Linked DNA regions of Homo sapiens: region 2 is linked to region 1. The links are contacts of gene promoters, found by promoter capture Hi-C in human tissues and cell types (Jung and others, 2019). All regions are on one chromosome and are shown on one strand. Each heading gives the region's core, a stretch centred on a gene start or on the middle of the fragment in contact. The rest is flanking DNA. Distances are from core to core; before and after follow the strand shown.

Region 1 (6,106 bases), core at 2,928-5,427:
TCGCCGCCATGACGGGGCTAGCACTGCTCTACTCCGGGGTCTTCGTGGCCTTCTGGGCCTGCGCGCTGGCCGTGGGTGAGGCCGGGTCCTGGCGGGCGGGAGCAGCATCGCGGCCGAGCTGGCCGGGTCGGAACTCGGCGGGGAAGTGGCCTGCGGGGAATACTGGCCCCCCGCGCGCTCTGCACCCGAGGCTCTGGGGACTTGCGCCTGCGAGGGCCTCTGACTCCGACAAAGGAGACCCGGATTTCCAGCTGCTTGAGGAGGGGTGCGGGCGGGTAGGGGCCGCGAGGGCAGCACTCCCCCGTCCTGCCACTATCGCTGTCTCCCCTCGCTCCCACGTCTCACTGCTGTCCCCCCTTTCTTGCTCCTGACCGGCCCGCTCGGTCACAAGCCGGCTGCTCCGGTTCCTCTTTTCCCAGTCGCTTTGCCCTCCCCCACCCACAGCTTGTTGGGTAAACAGCGGAACGGACTGGGCCGGCGGGATCTGGCTGGAGCGCTTGCTCCCTCGGTCCCGCCTCGGATTCGGGCTTGCGGGTGGCGACCCTGCCTGCGCAGGTGCTTGGTCTGGGAGGTGGTTTTAGCGAGGGAATGGCAGAAAATGGAGGCCTAAGCAGAGGAATCTGTCTACACAGCTGTACTGTCACCTGGGGGCAGCCTGAGGACGCCCCTTCAGGGAGGTGGCCCTTCAGCTCGGCAGCTACTTTAGGTTGAAGAACTTCTCTCTACCGAGCAGCCCGTAACCCCCTTTTTCTCCCTCACTGCTGCAGGAGTCTGCTACACCATTTTTGATTTGGGCTTCCGCTTTGATGTGGCATGGTAAGGGAGGGCAGGGGGAGGATTCCCCTTGAAGCTTCTTCCCTGCAGCCTCTCTTCTTTTCTCTGGTCTGAGTCCCTCCCCCACACCACTGCCTGCCTGGGACATGGACCTTTGGGAAATACGCGGTCAGTTGTTGCCTGTAGAACTGGTGGTGGGGTTGAAGGGGGTTTGAGGGGTTAAGATTTTGTGCTCCGCTTCCCTGCTAGAGCTGAACTGCTTTCTTCTCTGCTTCCACAACAGGTTCCTGACGGAGACTTCGCCCTTCATGTGGTCCAACCTGGGCATTGGCCTAGCTATCTCCCTGTCTGTGGTTGGGGCAGCCTGGTGAGTATTGGGGTGGTGGGACTGGGGGCAGGGGCTGAGTCATGGCAGGTGGTGTCACTGGGGTCTTAGGCATGCTGAGGGCAGTGACAGCTTGGGCTCTGCTCATCAGTTTTTTATCCTTCCACCAGGGGCATCTATATTACCGGCTCCTCCATCATTGGTGGAGGAGTGAAGGCCCCCAGGATCAAGACCAAGAACCTGGTCAGGTAAGTGTCAGGGTCCTTGGACTTTTGTCAGAACCAGCTGTGTTGGCGCTGCCTGTGTGTTTGATCTGACATACTGTTTCTGACAAGCCACCTTGTGGGATGGGATGTTATAGGGGAAAGATTGCTGGGGACTTACTGGGCAGGAAGGACGGTTTCTTTCTCATTTCTTTCTCCTTTCCACTCCTTACCCCTAATCTCTACCACTACCAGCATCATCTTCTGTGAGGCTGTGGCCATCTACGGCATCATCATGGCAATTGTCATTAGCAACATGGCTGAGGTATGGAAGGCCAGGGTGGTGGCGGGAATCCATTCCAGTGTGTTCTACACATTCCTTAGAGATTGGATGGGGTGCATCAGGATGGTTTCTGATTACTTTTCTTCTTCCCTCAGCCTTTCAGTGCCACAGACCCCAAGGCCATCGGCCATCGGAACTACCATGCAGGTGGGTGGATGGGCGTATGAATGCAAAATGCTGGGACTTCATGCCTGCTTCCACTCTCCCCCATCCCAGCTTGGGCCATCATTTTGATATTCTCTCACCTACTTTTTCTGCTTTGCAGAGTGGGGATGGTGATTGGCCCCATTAGCCCATATCTCCCCCATTCCTGGCTTAGCCTCACTGCACCCCTCTCTATCCTCCCAGGCTACTCCATGTTTGGGGCTGGCCTCACCGTAGGCCTGTCTAACCTCTTCTGTGGAGTCTGCGTGGGCATCGTGGGCAGTGGGGCTGCCCTGGCCGATGCTCAGAACCCCAGCCTCTTTGTAAAGATTCTCATCGTGGAGATCTTTGGCAGCGCCATTGGCCTCTTTGGGGTCATCGTCGCAATTCTTCAGGTGATGAATCCCCTTGGGAAGCCTCTGTGTCCTTGTCCCCAACCTAGCCTTACCCTCCTTCTGGAGAAGCTGAAGTGCTCTCCTTCTCTACCTATAACTATAGATTCCCCCAAACAGCTTCCACCTCCTCATTTCCATCTTCTGGTTTTCTCCTACAGGGGCTCTCTATTTTTGTCTCTGATTTGGTGTCACTGACAACAGCCCTGTTCTTTTTCCCCCCTTTCTAATGCGTTGTATCTGTATAGCACTTAGTCCTCCCTCTTTCTGTTCTCTCATTTTATCTGCCATGCTTTTCATGTCTCCAGTCTGTATTTGTGATCTAGACTAGAATGGAATTTTGTCTGTCTATATCAGTCTGTCATGGTGTGTTTGACTGTCTCTCGGAGCTATGTGTATCTCCCTCTCACATGCCTGTCAGTAGGACACCATTGTCTAAATTGTGTGTGTCTAGTCTGTCTGACAGTGTGTGAGTTTGTGACTAAGGATCAGCCTGAGGGTCTGAGTGTGACTGTGGGTGCTTGACTGAGTTGATTCTTAGTGACTAGCTTTATCCATATGCCACTTCTCTCCGTCTGTCCCACAGCGTAACTCTGTGGTTGTCTGTCCCTGTCTGCCTTGTCTGTCACAGTGTGTCCATCCTGGTTAGTCATATATCTCTTGTGGTCTGTCCATCCAACCATGTGCTAGATGTCATCTTCTATCATTTGTCACTGCCTTACCTATTCCTCTGTCCCTGCCTGATTTCTCCTGTTCTTTTTTTGCAGACCTCCAGAGTGAAGATGGGTGACTAGATGATATGTGTGGGTGGGGCCGTGCCTCACTTTTATTTATTGCTGGTTTTCCTGGGACAGCTGGAGCTGTGTCCCTTAGCCTTTCAGAGGCTTGGTGTTCAGGGCCCTCCCTGCACTCCCCTCTTGCTGCGTGTTGATTTGGAGGCACTGCAGTCCAGGCCGAGTCCTCAGTGCGGGGAGCAGGCTGCTGCTGCTGACTCTGTGCAGCTGCGCACCTGTGTCCCCCACCTCCACCCTCAACCCATCTTCCTAGTGTTTGTGAAATAAACTTGGTATTTGTCTGGGTCAGTGCAGCTTCTGTTGCCCTCTTGCGTCACCGTTCACAGAGGAAGGGTAAAGAGGCCTGTACGCCTCAGCCTCATGCCAATCCCTTGTCAGCTTTCTGACTGCACACTTCTGATCTGCACAGAGCTTGCTCCTAGGTGGGGAGGCACGGGTGCTGGGTGGACTCTAACCCCCAAACAGACTTGTTTGGGGATGAGGGAGTGTGCAGATAGGGGCCCCTGGGTGTGTTTGTGCCTGTAGTCCTTCTAGGCCCGTTTGCTCAGGGCTCTGACTGACCACCATGCCCGAATTGTCTGACAGCATCTACTTACCTGGTTGTACAGTCGGGCACCATCATCTCCGTCCTTGTGAGGCCTGGAGCCTAGGCAGTGGTCTCTGCCTCCAGTGATGGTCCTGTCCTTCTAGCAGCAGCCCCTCCCAGAAACCTCTACTCTGATCCTTGTTCCCAGGGCCCAGGGCAGCTCCTCCCACCCCATCCAATCTCGTTTTCTCCTTCCCTGACCCTGTTTCCTGTTACCCCAGAAGCCCCAGCCACCTCCAGCCCACGCCTTTAAGGGTCCTGCCCCCTCTCTGCTGGCCGACCTTGAATCTTGGTCCAATTAAAGAGTTGACAAATCCCTAGCCCCGCAGCCTGAGTCCGCCCAACCTCCAGGTCCCCTTCCTGGGGAGTTCGCGCTCCAATGCAATCCCCACTCCCCGCTAAGGGACTCCACGGTCTGCACCCGCTCGCCGGTCCGACCTCTAAGCCCACCCTTTGGACGAGCCTGACCCATTTCCTCCCGCGCTCCCAGGTCCGTGCCTCCTGGGTGCCCGGGTTCGGCCGCCGGCAGGGCGGGCTCGCAGCGGCGCGCGGCGGGTGCGGGCGTGCTGGAGGCGGGGGCCGCGGGGGCGCGCGCGCGGGCGCGCGGGCCGGGCCTGCCCCTCCGAGGCGCCGTAGCGCGGGAGGGAGGCGGCGGCGCTGTGGTCCGTGGGTCCGCCGGTCCGTGGGTCTGCCCGGCCGCCCGGCCCCGCCCTGCCCCCCGGGGCGGCTCGGCTCCATGGCCCGCGGCGGCGGCGGCGGCGGCGGCGGCGGGAGGCGACCCGGGGGCCGCGGTGGCCGCTGACCGGGCGGCGGGAGGCGGCGGGGCCGGGCCATGGGGGACGGAACCGTCCGCAGCCGCCGGAGCCGGGAGCCCTGCCCAAGTCGGAGCGGCGTCCCCTGCTGAGCCCCGAGCGCCGGGTGAGAGGAGGGCGCGCGCGGCCCCCACCCAGGGCCCCGAGATTCCAGACCCAGCCCCGCGAGGGGCACCCCGAGCGCGGCCCCGAGATCCCAACCCAGGAGCCGGTGAGAGAGGCGCCGGCGGCCAGACCCCGGCCTGGCTGCCCCCACCCCGCCCCCACTCCGGCGCCCCTCCTGGGCTTCTCCGCCCGCGTCCAGCCGGCCTCCCTCATTGTCCTCGCTCGCCCCGGCCTCGTGGCGCGGGGAGGCGTTCCATACACGTTTCCCCTTGGCCTTTGCCTCATCCGCTGCCCTCCACCCACTCCCCCTGCCCCCAGGCTCCACACCCACCCGGTCTGTGCGGCCTGCCCGTCCGCGGGTGCCACGTGTTCAGCCTGCCAGCCCCGCCCAAACGCACCCCTCAGCCTGGCCGCCAGCCTGACCCAGAACCCCTGCGCCGGAGGGAGGGTGGGAATGTCTGCACGTGGGTCTGGGTGTGAGCTGTCTGAGAGTCTGGATGTATGGCTGTGGAAGTCCAGGAGCAGTGGCCTTGTTTGTGAGTGTGGGACTTAGTGTGTTACTGTCACCCGGGTGTGTCTGTGACTGTAGTTCTCTGTGTGTCTGAGTGTGGGTGACCAGCTGGGACCAGGGTGTCCCTGTGATTCTGTGTGCCTGTGAGACTCACCCTGCTCCCTGAAGCACTGCCAGAAGTGGCTGCCGCTCTCTTGGAACCACAGCTGGAGCCATCGCCCAGGCAAGACCCCCTTCCTGCCATGCCCAGTGCTGTGCCCATCTCCAGGCCCAAGCATCCCGTTCCGGGAATCAGAACCAGCTGTGCTGGGCAGGACCCAGAGTCTTGGTCCCAGTCCCAAGGGGCTGGCTTTGAGGTCTTAAGTGAGGGGTGTCCCCTGCCTTGCCCCGTATTTTGACGTTTTGCTCCAGTGGGAAGGGATTCTGTAAACATCCAGTCTGTATTTGGGCCCCCCGGATGCTGAGGGCAACTTCCCAGCCTGGTCCCAGTTGGCCTGGCCTGCTTGTCGCTGGGATCTGAATGACCAAACCACTTCCCACCATGGCTCCTGGAAGGACTAAATGAAGTCATGAGTATAAAGTGCTCCTGCATGGTAGGTGCACAGTATTCCGTCTCTTCCCTCTTCCCCAAGCCATGAGTTCTGGGTTAAGGATGCTGCCATGTGAGGTGTCTGTTCTCAGGGGCACAGGGGCACATGGGGGTCTATAGGTAAACATGTCTCCATGCTTAGGTACAAACCAGTGTGGTTAGAGTTCACGTGTCTGTGTTCCTGGGAATGCGTGAGTGTGTGTGTAGAGTTGTGCAATAAGGGTGAGTGCCTGAGTGTGTGTGTCAGTGAGGTGGAGGAAGGTAAATGTATGTGGCTTAGTAGTGGGGTGTGCTTGAGGATGTGAGTACTGAGTTGCCGGGAACTGTGCCTGGGTGTCTGTTTGGAGGTAAATTCTTGAGTCTGTGAGTGTGAAAGGGTATGAGCAGGTCAGTGTGAGGTGTGGCCCACGAGTGTGAGCAGCTGAGTGGGAGGTAGGTGGGCAGCCTTGCCTGTCCTGCCCTGACCTGCTGGATCTGTTTCCCTCCCACCCTGCTCAGGCCAGCAGCCGGATGCCCGGGCCCACTGGG
Region 2 (5,598 bases), core at 2,699-5,198, 690 kb after region 1:
ATCACTTGAGCCCAAGAGTTCAAGACCAGGTTAGGCAACATGGCGAAACCTCATCTCTATAAAAATTAGTTGGGCAAGGTGGCACACGCCTGTAGTCCCAGCTCCTCAGGGTGCTGAGGCAGGAGGATAGCTTAAGCCCAGGAGATCAAGGCTGCAGTGAGCCATGATCATGCCACTGTACTCCAGCCTGGGTGACAGAATGAGACCTTATTATAAAAAAAAAAAAAAAAAAGCCAGGTGTGGTAGCTCACGCATGTAATCCCAGCAATTTGGGAGGCCAAGACAAGCTGATCACCTGAGGTCAGGAGTTCAAGACCAGCCTGACCAACATGGAGAAACCTCATCTCTACTAAAAATACAAAAATCAGCCGGACGTGGTGGCACATGCCTGTAATCCCAGCTACTCAGGAGGCTGAGGCAGGAGAATCGCTTGAACCTGGTGGTGGGGAGGTTGCGGTGAGCCGAGATCGCGCCATTGCACTCCAGCCTGGGCAACAAGAGCGAAACTCCATCTCAAAAAAAAAAAAAAAAATTGCAATACTCTTATGAGCAAGAATTCTCATTTTACAGACGAAAACCTGAGGCACATACGAAACGGCTTGCTCAGGGTTACATAACTAACAAGCAGTGAAGCTGAAATCCAAACCCAGCTGGTCTAACTCTAAAGACCAGCTTGTATCCGCTATCCTAGCCAGCCCTGTAGATAACAAAACCATCTCCATCACCTCAGCTCCAAACCTGTATACATGGCTGCCTCCTGTACATCAAGAGACCCCATAAATGACCTCATCTACCTGCTTCTCCCAGCCAGAACTTCAATATATGCTGCCTCATTTGGTCTTGCAACCATCCTAGGAGTTAGCTACTATTACTATCCCCATTTTACATAAGAGAAAACTAAAACACAGAGAGGGGAAGTCCCTTTCCCCCAAGAACACACAGCCAGGAAGCAGCAGAGCCAGCGCCCACTATCCGGACCAGCGTGCTCTACCGCCTCCACCACCGCGACCTTGCACTTGCTCTCTGCTCTCCAGCCCACGATGCTGATGCTCCGTGTTCATGCTTTGCTAATGCCCATTCCACCTATAGAATCAGCTCACTACTTACTTCCAGGAAGCCTTCCTTGACGCCCTCCCCAACCCCTTCTCACCACCCCCCACCCCAAACCATCAGACTGAGTGAGGTGCCCCTCCTCTGTACTGCCACAGCACCCACCACCACACCACTGCACTTAACACACACTATACTGACATCATCAGGAACAGGTAGGAGGCTACTGTAAAATTCAAGGCAAGAGATGGTGAAGGCCTGAACCAGAGCAGTGGAGAGACAGATAGGGAGGGGTAGAAATGACAGGAAGAAAACGGTCACAAGAATTCTGGAACATGTATCAAAAGTCTCAAAAACATGCAATCTTTGCCGGGCGCAGTGGCACAAGCCTATAATCCCAGTATTTTGGAAGGCCGAGGCAGGTAGATCACTTGAGGTCAGGAGTTGGGGACCAGCCTGACCAACATGGTGAAACCCCGTCTCTACTAAATACAAAAAATTAGCTGGGCACGGTGGTGGGGGCCTGTAATCCCAGCTACTTGGGAGGCTGAGGCAGAGAATCACTTGAACCCAGGAGGCGGAGGTTGCAGTAAGCAGAGATTGCACCATTGCACTCCAGCCAGGGCAACAAGAGCGAAACTCCATCTCAAAAAAAAAAAAAAAACATGCAATCTTTGACTTGGTAATTCCACTTATAAGAAAGAAAAACGTTAAATCATGGAGAAATATTCAATAATACATTAAGCAGATCATAGACATAAATGTAAGAGCTGAAACTACAAAACTGTTAGACGAGAACATATGAGTAAATCTTTGGATTAAGTAGCAGTTTCATAGACATGCCACCAAAAGTACAAGGAACAAACAAACAAAAGAGATAAATTGAGACTTCATCAAAATAAAAACTTTTTATTTCAAAGGACATAATCCAAAAAAAGTGAAAAAAAGAAAAACCCCACAGCATGGAGAAAATATTTGCAAATCATGTATCTGATAAGGGAGTAATATCCAGAATACAGAGAAAACTCCTAAAACTCAACAGCAAAAAGTAAACCCAACTCAAAAATTGGCAAAGGACCTGAATATATTAAGCAGGTCTTTCTCCAAAGAAGATTTACAAATGGCCAATAAGCACATAAAAACATGCTCAACATCATAGCCATTAGGGAAATCAAAATCAAAGCCACTATGAGGTATCTCTTTATACCCAGGATGGCTATAATTAAAAAGTCAGATAATAAACAAGTGTTGGTTGTGGATGAAACCAGGACCCTCATACACTGCTGGTGGAAATGCATAATGGTGCAGCCACTTTGGAAAACAGTATGGCAGATCCTCAAAAAAATTAAATGTAGAGTTACCACATGATCCCACAATTTCACTACTAGGGATACATCCAGGAGAGCTAAAAATATACATCCACATGAAAACTTGCCCATGAATGTTCATTGCAGTCATAATAACCAAAAGGTGGAAACATACCTCCTATCATCTGTGAACAGATAAGCAAAATGTGATACATCCATACAATTAAATACCATTCAGTCATAAAAAGGAATGAAGTACTAATACACGTGATAGCATGGATGAACCTTGAAAACATCATTCTAAGTGAAATAAGTCAGATACAAAGGGGCACATATTATATGACTTCATTTATATAAAATATCAAGAATAGGCAAATCCACAGAGAATGAAAGATTAGTGGTTGCCAAGGGCTGGGGGGAGGAGGGAATGGAGAGTGACTACTAACAGGAATGGGGTTTCTTTTTCAGATGATGAAAATGTTTTGGAATTAGATGGCAGTGATATTCTTACAATTCTGTGAATATACCAAAAGCCAGTGAATTGTACTTTTTTTTTTTGTTTTGTTTTGAGACAGGGCCTCACTCTGTCACCCAGGCTGGAATGCAGTAGTGAGATCATGGCTTACTACAGTCTCAACCTCCCAGGCTCAAGCGATCCTCCCATCACAGCCTCCTGAGTGCTAAGACTACAGGCACATGGTACCACACCTGGCTAATTTTTTATTTTTTGTAGAGACAGGGTCTCACTATGTTGCCCAGGCTGGTCTTGAACTCCTGGGCTCAAGCAATCCTCCCACCTTAGCCTCCCAAAGTACTGGGATTACAGGCATGAGCCACCGCGCCTGGCCAGAAGTACATTTTTAAAGGGTGGATTTTATGGTATGTGAATTATTTCTCAATAATGTTATTATTTTTAAAAATAATAGTAATACATTAAGTGAAAACACAAGTTATAAAGCAATATCATAACAGAATACCCATATACACACACATACTACACAAACGCACACTTTTTTTGTTGTTTTTTTTTTTTTTGACAGTCTCACTCTGTCGCCCAGGCTGGAGTGTAATGGTGCAATCTCGGCTCACTACAACCTTCGCCTTCCAGGTTCAAGCGATTCTCCTGCCTCAGCCTCCCTAGTTGCTGGGATTACAGGCGCCCACCATCATGCCCGGCTAATTTTTGTGGTTTCAGTAGAAACGGGGTTTCACCATGTTGGCCAGGCTGGTCTCGAACTCCTGACTTCAGGTGATCTGCCCACCTCGGCCTCCCAAAGTGCTGGAATTACAGGCATGAGTCACCGCGCCCAGCCATGTATTTTTTTTAATGCATAGAAAAAAATACATCAAATATTAATAGCAATTATTTATGGGATTAGAGGCAATTTCTTTTTCATGATTTTTTTCCCACTTTCTAAAATCAGTATGTATAACTTCTGCAATGAGAGTTAAAATATTATCTCAAACAACAGGGGAGGTGGTCCAGCAGAGTCAAAAGCAGTTGAGAAGTCAAAGAGGCCAGGGATGCCCAGAAGCCCCTCAGCAATGTGGAAGGATTCTTTTCAACCCTAGCACTTCTCGAGTACCCCACAAAGCAATTTAATCTCACAAGCTCCCTGTCCTCTAGAATTTCTCAACAAATAACACTGACACAGATAGTGCCAGAATTACAAATACGTATATTGTACAACAGTTCAAGCCATAAAACTCAAGCATAAATTAGATTGTGTATACCCCAGGGGCATATGGGGAAGACAAAGGAATGGGCTGATAAGGCATAAGGGTCTGCAGTACAATATGTACTTTTTTATTTGCAAGCCAGAATGAAAATAGAAACCATGTTTTCTTTTTAAAATGCAAAAAATTGGCCAGACTTGGTGGCTCACGCCTGTAATCCCAGCACTTTGGGAGGCCGAGGTGGGCGGATCATGAGGTCAGGAGGTCAAGACCATCCTGGCTAACAGGTGAAACCCCGTCTCTACTAAAAATACAAAAAATTAGCCGAGCGTGGTGGCGGGCGCCTATAGTCCCAGCTACTCCGGAGGCTGAGGCAAGAGAATGGCGTGAACCCAGAGCTGAGATCGCACCACTGCACTCCAGCCTGGGCGACAGAACGATATTCTGTCTTAAAAATAAAATAAAATAAAAATAAAAATAAAATAACATGCAAAAAATTGAAAGAGTCTTAATTTTCTCTACTCCCCAGAAAAACTTTCTAGTGTCTCACAGTTCCTATATTTAAATCAAATTTTTCTTTTCTTCTTTGAGACAAGGTCTTTCTGTGTTGCCCAGGCTGGAGGGCAGTGGTGTAGTCATGGCTCACTGCAGCCTCGAACTCTTGGGCTCAGGTAATCCTCCTACCTCAGCCTCCCAAGTAGCTGGGACTATAGGCAAGCACCACCATGCTCAGCTAATTTTTGTATTATTTTGCAGAGGTAGGGTTTGGCCATGTTGCCCAGGCTGGTCTCAAATTCTTGGGCTCAAGCAATCCACCCCCCTCGGCCTCCCAAAGTGTTGGGATTACAGGCGTGAGCCACTGTACCCGGCCAAATTACTTTATTTTTTATTTACTTTTTAAAAGAAGAGCAGAGCAGAGTAGCATAGTATCTAAGAGTACATACTGTACAAAATCATATCTCGGTTCAAATCTCTGCCTCTGCCACTTAATAACTATGACACAGACCTTAATCAAGTTCTCTAAGCTTCAATTTCCTTATCTGTGAAATGGGGACAATGATACAAAGAATTAAATATGATAATAGCTATAGAGGGCTTATCATGGTGCCTGGCAGAAGGAAAGAGTTCAATAAATTGAAATTATTATTACTTCACAAGTAATGCATACTCACTGTAGAAAAAGTAGAAAATGAATATCTAATAAAATTGGAATCATATTGTTTGTAATCTGCTTTCTTCCGTTTGGCAATATATTGTGAACATTTTTCCCTGTCAGTTTATATATTTCTACACCATTATTTTTAGTGGCTTCAGAGAGGCTATAGAATGTTTCATAATTTATGGTGACCAAATCTCCCATTATTGGATATGATGCTGTTTCCAATTTTTTGCTGTTATAAAAATACTTTAATGGACACCCCTTTCTTTGTGCATGTCCCTAATTGTTTCCTAGAAATGGCATCGTATTCAGGCAGCCCCTCCTAATGGCAACTGAAATCTCGGCATGCACAAGCTCTGGAGTAAGGCTCTTAAGCTGAAATCTGGAATTACTTTGGGCAAGACA

The links. The method cuts DNA at HindIII sites, captures the fragments that hold promoters and counts their contacts. A contact is called where the count stands out against the background at its distance.
Region 2: a fragment that was not itself captured here is called in contact with the fragment with the promoter of B4GALT2 in region 1 in 1 of the 25 tissues and cell types used here (dorsolateral prefrontal cortex).

Annotation. Positions count from the first base shown.
Region 1 is chr1:43,975,033-43,981,138 of GRCh38, forward strand. B4GALT2 (beta-1,4-galactosyltransferase 2) reads left to right here and starts at 4,178. Exons shown (of 7, transcript NM_003780.5): 1 at 4,178-4,479; 2 at 6,077-6,106. ATP6V0B (ATPase H+ transporting V0 subunit b) reads left to right here. Exons shown (of 8, transcript NM_004047.5): 1 at 1-75; 2 at 768-816; 3 at 1,058-1,141; 4 at 1,270-1,347; 5 at 1,558-1,627; 6 at 1,741-1,792; 7 at 1,994-2,184; 8 at 2,949-3,263. The coding sequence starts at 9. The coding sequence ends at 2,975. RefSeq lists enhancers at 1-747, 2,880-3,471, 3,472-4,062, 4,063-4,654 and silencers at 1-16, 417-466, 4,072-4,171, 4,442-4,551. The HindIII fragment of the contact is 8,245 bases long and covers 133-6,106 here.
Region 2 is chr1:44,663,938-44,669,535 of GRCh38, forward strand. All of the region lies in intron 1 of TMEM53 (transmembrane protein 53), which reads right to left. Among named protein-coding and RNA genes, the nearest start is that of SNORD145, 4.3 kb to the right of the region's middle. RefSeq lists an enhancer at 953-1,032. The HindIII fragment of the contact is 3,743 bases long and covers 2,078-5,598 here.